2 separate regions of the Homo sapiens genome follow, and region 1 is linked to region 2. The links are contacts of gene promoters, found by promoter capture Hi-C in human tissues and cell types (Jung and others, 2019). All regions are on one chromosome and are shown on one strand. The core of a region is centred on a gene start or on the middle of the fragment in contact, and the rest is flanking DNA. Distances in the headings are between cores, read along the strand shown.

Region 1 (2,801 bases), core at 244-2,743, 150 kb after region 2:
GTTGTTTAGTAGACAATGTTAGTTTTCTATAGATCTGCTTATTTTGTCTGACTTATTAGTATACCTTTTGCGTGGTTCTCCCTCCTTACAAAGGATAACTCTTATCTAAGTCATTAGTATAAATAGAGAAAACTTTAGTTTTTCCTTTGTTGAAATGTGCTTGATTTTTTACCTTATCCAAGTGGGCCTAAAAGTCTTATAATAAATTTCTACTATGTAAGATATTAATGGGGTATATTATAACATATTTGATGGGCAAAAGTAGTTCTTCACCCTATCTAAAACTAATAATTACTTTATAGCCAACCTTTCTGGGAAAAAAATCGGTAGTTAAGCTTAACTTACCTTTTTAAAAATTAATCTCTTTCTTTTCATGAATTTTTAAAATTTAGAAGGCAGGCTGGGCATGGTGGCTCACACCTTTAATCCCAGCACTTTGGGAGGCAGAAGCGGGCAGATCACCTGAGATCAGGAGTTCAAGACCAGCCAGACCAACATGGTGAAACCCCATCTCTACTCAAAATACAAAAATTAGCAGGGTGAAGTGGCGGGCACTTGTAATCCCATCTACTCGGGAGGCTGAGACAGGAGAATCACTTGAACCTGGGAGGCAGAGGCTGCAGTGAGCCAAGATCACGCCATTGCACTCCAGCCTGGGTGACAGAGCAAGACTCTGTCTCAAAATAAAATAAAATAAATAAATAAATAAAATAAAATAAAATTCAGAAGGCAGATGACAAATTTCTGTTAAATAACTGACAAGCCAAAATGGTGTTTGATTTTTTTCTAAAGGTAGGCTTGGTTGATTTAACTTAAACAAAGACTGCACATTTATTTTGATTAATATTATTCACAACATAAAATTTTATTAACATTTATTGAATAGGTAAGCTATGAAAATCATAAACAAAACCAATATGAATAAAAATCTAGTATAAGATACAATTTTGTACAAGACTTAAAAGAGAACATTTTCTTACTGAGTGACATGATCAAGCTTAAATGTAAGCGTGGCAGTGACAAAATCATTATATACAGGTATTGATTTCTTGCATAAAAGTGTTATTTATTCATTTATTTAATAATAGCAATAGGGTCTTGCTATGTTGCCCAGGCTGGTCTCAAACTCCTGGCCTCAAGCAATCCTCTTGCCTCACCCTCCCAAAAATGTTGGGATTACAGGCGTGAGCCACTATGCCCAGCCAAAATTGTTATTTTTGAGGCTAAAAATGAAAAAGAAAATTTTCTTCTTTAATGTGAAACTTGGGCTTGTTTTTTATTGCACAAATAATTCTGAGTTGAAGTTTAATTCTGAATATTGAATTCTGAGTTTAAGATAAGCATACATGGATTTCATTTTCCAGTAAAATGAGACAATTTCTGTCTTTACTCTTCATACTTTCTATACTATAAAAAATTCTCACGGATTTAAGTAGTTAAAAACTGAAGCAAAGCCAGGTGTGGTGGCTCACTCCTGTAATCCCAGCACTTTGGGAGGCTGAGGCGGGTGGATCATTTGAGGTCAGGAGTTCGAGACCAGCCTGGCCAATATGGTGAAACCCCATCTCTACTAAAAATACAAAAATTAACTGGGCGTGGTGGCGGGCACCTGTAATCCCAGCTACTACGGAGGCTGAGGCAGGAGAATCGCTTGAACCCGGGAGGTGGAGGTTGCAGTGAGCCAAGATTGTGCCATTGCACTCCAACCCGGGCAACAGAGCAAGACTCTGTCTCAAAAAACAAAAAAACAAACAACAACCAAAAAAAACTGAAGCAAATTATTGTTTTCCTATGAATAGCAGGATATTTTCATTTTACCAAATTCCAGAACTTGTCTAGGAGCAGGTCAGTAAATCTCATCTTTTGTATATGAACAGATTATACCTTACAGAGCTCTTTCTTGTCTCTCAAAGCCAAGAGTAGACGCATTAGAAAAAAAGATCCCTGGCGGGCGCAGTGGCTCACGCCTGTAATCCCAGCACTTTGGGAGGCCGAGGAGGTGGATCACGAGGTCAGGAGATCAAGATCATCCTGGCTAACACGGTGAAACTCCGTCTCTACCAAAAATATAAAAATTAGCAGGGCGTGGTGGTGGGCGCCTGTAGTCCAGCTACTCGGGAGGCTGAGGCAGGAAAATGGTGTGAACCCAGGAGGCGGAGCTCGCAGTGAGCCGAGATCGCGCCACTGCACTCCAGCCTGGGAGACAGAGCGAGACTCCGTTTCAAAAAAAAAAAAAAAAAAAAAAAAAAAAAAAAAAAAAAAAATCCCTTACCAAGTCACACACTTGGATTGAAAGAAGACAAAACACTGTTCAATTTTGTTATGCATTTCTTTCTGATTTTTAAAAAGCTTTAAATTTTGGCCGGGAGCAATGGCTCACGGCTGTAATCCCGACAGTTTGGGAGGCAGAGGTGGGAGGATCACTTGAGAACAGGAGTTGGAGACCAGCCTGGCCAACTTAGTGAAACCCCACCTCTACTAAAAATTAAAAAAAGTTAGCCAGGTGTGGTGGTGGGCACCTGTAATCCCAGCAACTTGGCAGGCTGAGGCAGGAGAATTGCTTGAACCTGGGAGGTGGAGGTTGCAGTGAGCTGAGATCACGCCACTGCACTCCAGCGTGGGCGACAGAGCAAGATTCCGCCGCAAAAAAAAAAGAAAAAAAATGTTTTAAATTTTTAATTATTATGGGCACGTAATAGTTGTATATATTTATGGGGTACATATGATGATTTGCAACAAGCATATAATATGAAATGATCAAATCACAGTCATTGGGGTATCCATCACCTCAAGCATTTATC
Region 2 (3,071 bases), core at 98-2,597:
ATTTAGCTTCTTTTTATTTTACACACACACACAAATATAACCATAGACATCATTAGCTGATGAGCCGCCATTGGCGTCCTCTCTATTACTGATAATTAACGTCCTTGTGGTGACTTGCTCATCATACTGCCTCTATTGTCTCAGCCAGAATAAGCCTTAAAAAGGAAATGAAAGCAGAGGTATGGAGTGGAAAGAACACTGGACTAGCAGTAGAGAGAATCTCAATTTCATTTTCAGCTCCACTACAGATGTGCTGTGGGACTTGAACAGGTCGGTCCCCTTCCTATCATTTTTTACATCTGTGGAGCGAAGGGGTTAGATGAGAGGCCTAAGGCCCTTTTCAGGACTCTTAACTCTGTGTTGTAGGAAGCCAATGATCGGCAAAATGGTGCTGAACCCCCTACTGGCTTGAACAGTACGAACTCTTGCCTCAAATGGCTGGTCTGAGAGTTTCAGCCACTGGGAACAGTTCTCTTTCCCTTTGGATGGGACTCTTGAACCTAGGCCAGGACTCAGAGGTCCCAAATGAAAACAGCCCCAGTCATTCCATAACAAAGGGAAAGGCACCCAGAGCCAGCGAGGAGATGAGTCTGGGAAGCTGTATTTCACTGTCACAACTGAAAAATCTTCCATGCACCCAGCCTCCCCCTAGCCACCCCAAATCTCAGGGGGAAGCCACCCCTCATCCAAAGTTACCCTTCTCACAAGTAAATCAGCAACTCCCCTGAAAAACAAAAAGTGCTTGGTCTACACTATCTCCAAAACTCAGGACCTTCTAACACCACTACTAAATGTCTAAAAACTTAGCTCTCCTGCTCTGCCTTCTTCATCCTGAAACTAACTCTGCAATCGGCCTGTCTTGCCTGCCAACAATTTCAACTCTGCTAACACTGTTTATTGTATCTTGCAGCTGCTATAGATTCATTTATTTTGCTTCAGGCTTCTTTGGTTATTACTGCTCTTTATTCTTCCCTTCATAGCATAAATCCAGACCCCCAAAAACATGGGATCTGATTTCTCGAGTCTGTGGTGCCTCATTACGTTCCCTTCCTTGTCTGACTTAAAACGCCCTTCTGTTTCCTTTTTAAAACTTTTCCTGAAACACCAAAAGAAGTATATGCGGAGCTTTCATTTTCAAAAAAGAAAAAATAATAAAGAAAAAAGACCCACATAACTTACTTTCATCCAGGGGTGCACAGTTTTGGAAAGAAGAAAACAGAGCTATAATCCACTGCGTTTCCCCAACCCAAAAAGAAGAATTTGTTGTGAAACGCTTCTTTTTCCACTTTGCTGGTGAAGGAGCCCGGTGGTAGGCATACATCCACAGGCTGATGCAAGATGCCTTTGAGAGAAACCTCACATTCTGAGGATTCCTGGGAAAGCGCCAGGGATCCCAGCATCCAATATATTGCACATTTGGTTTCAATTAGGAAGGGGGTTGGGGAGGGAAGAAGGAAAGTCACCAATCAGAGCTGTTTTCTGTTTGGAGACTATTTCTTTTGACCCAAGGGACTATGGGCAAAGCTATAATTTACAGCAAAACCCATTCATAGAAGAAAAAATATGTATAACCATAGGACAGACTTAAAGACACCGCTCCCTTCTGCCTTATTCCCACCCATATCCATCTCCACTTCCTTCCCCTCCATCTAAGACTTGATCCCCTTCCTGTGATCCCCACCCCCCCGCCGCCTACCCCACACCTCATTTTTCTTACTTGAGCTGAAGCTATAAGCAAAACTTAAAGTTTGGAGTTTTCCAATTGAAGCTTCCAGGACAGTTGGGGCACACACGCGGAGCTGACCTTTAGTATTTTGACCATGAAAGCCTAGAGCTGAGCTCTCCCCCGAAAGATTTGATTTAATCCCTTCCCACCACGGCTCCCCCCACCAAGAAAACAACTGGAAACTGCCAGAATCCAGGATTCCTATTTTTTTCCACTCAATTCCCAGTTGGCTGCTGCCTCTGAGGGTCTGTTGCTGTCCTGGATTCATGCTGCTAAATGAAAACACAAGCATTTATAAGGACTTTCTAAATTATTTTGTGAACTTTTTTTTCCCTCCTTTATCTTCTCCCCGCTTCCACAGCTATAGTCAGAGATCATGTGAAAGGGGCGGGTAGGCAACAGGGGAGGAGCCTTCACTCCACTCTCCAAACGATAACTAATAACCCTCTCCATCCATCCAGGCTCCAGCCTTAACCCTTCAGAGCCTGGATCATTCCTGACCAAGCCCACGCTGGGCTGTTCTGGAGGTCCTGATTCTCCGTGAGTATGGAGAATGCAGGGCAAGCAGGGACCCAGGGGCAGGAGATCCAAAGAGAGAGGTAGATGGCAAAAGGCAGGTCAAGAAGACCGAGCTTACCTTTGAGAGCCAGACTTCTTGTAAAGAGACCTCCTTTCTCTGAGCTCTGGAGCTATCACCAGCTCTTCTCTGTTTGTAGTTAATCTGGGATTGCACAGTCTCCAAGATGAGCAAGAAAAGAAGTGAGCAAACAGGAAAGGGAGGATGGAAAGAGATCATGGAGGAACGTTCCCATAGTAAGTTAGGGGCAGGAGATGTTTCATAAGGGGAATGGAAAAGCGCACACACACACACACACACACACACACACACACACACACACACAATGAGGGTGGCCATGAAACTGAGAGCTAGTGTTGAGTCAGTGTTAAGTCCCTAAAAGTCTCATAAGCTCAGCACCAGTCTGAGGGTCAGAAAGCAGCCGTTAACATCTGTGCCTCACAGCTGTTACAGAAAAGGACACGGAGAACATGGGAATGGTTCAGAGGGCAGCCATGGAAATGATTAAAGGCAGCAAGCAAGACCTTAGAGAAAAAACTAGAACTAGGGTTAGTTTATGAAGAGAAAAGACACTGCAGAGATCAACTTATTAAGAAGACTCTTCAAATAACTTACAGCATCTGAAGTCAGGCCTGAGGGTGACTCAGGCCAGACATGCAGCTCAACTCAATAAATATGTGTTGGGCTCTTATCAGGCACTTTACTGGGTGCTTGCCAGAGACAACTAGAAATCCTCCTCAAATGTCCATGCCTGTAGTAGTTCACCTC

What was found. The method cuts DNA at HindIII sites, captures the fragments that hold promoters and counts their contacts. A contact is called where the count stands out against the background at its distance.
Region 1: a contact is called between a fragment that was not itself captured here and the fragment with the promoter of DDR2 in region 2, in 1 of the 25 tissues and cell types used here (spleen).

The regions. Positions count from the first base shown.
Region 1 is chr1:162,482,496-162,485,296 of GRCh38, reverse strand. No RefSeq gene overlaps it. Among named protein-coding and RNA genes, the nearest start is that of UHMK1, 14 kb to the left of the region's middle. The HindIII fragment of the contact is 3,180 bases long and covers 1-2,801 here.
Region 2 is chr1:162,630,740-162,633,810 of GRCh38, reverse strand. DDR2 (discoidin domain receptor tyrosine kinase 2) reads right to left here and starts at 1,347. Exons shown (of 18, transcript NM_006182.4): 1 at 1,180-1,347. RefSeq lists enhancers at 2,500-2,599, 2,890-3,069. The HindIII fragment of the contact is 26,458 bases long and covers 1-3,071 here.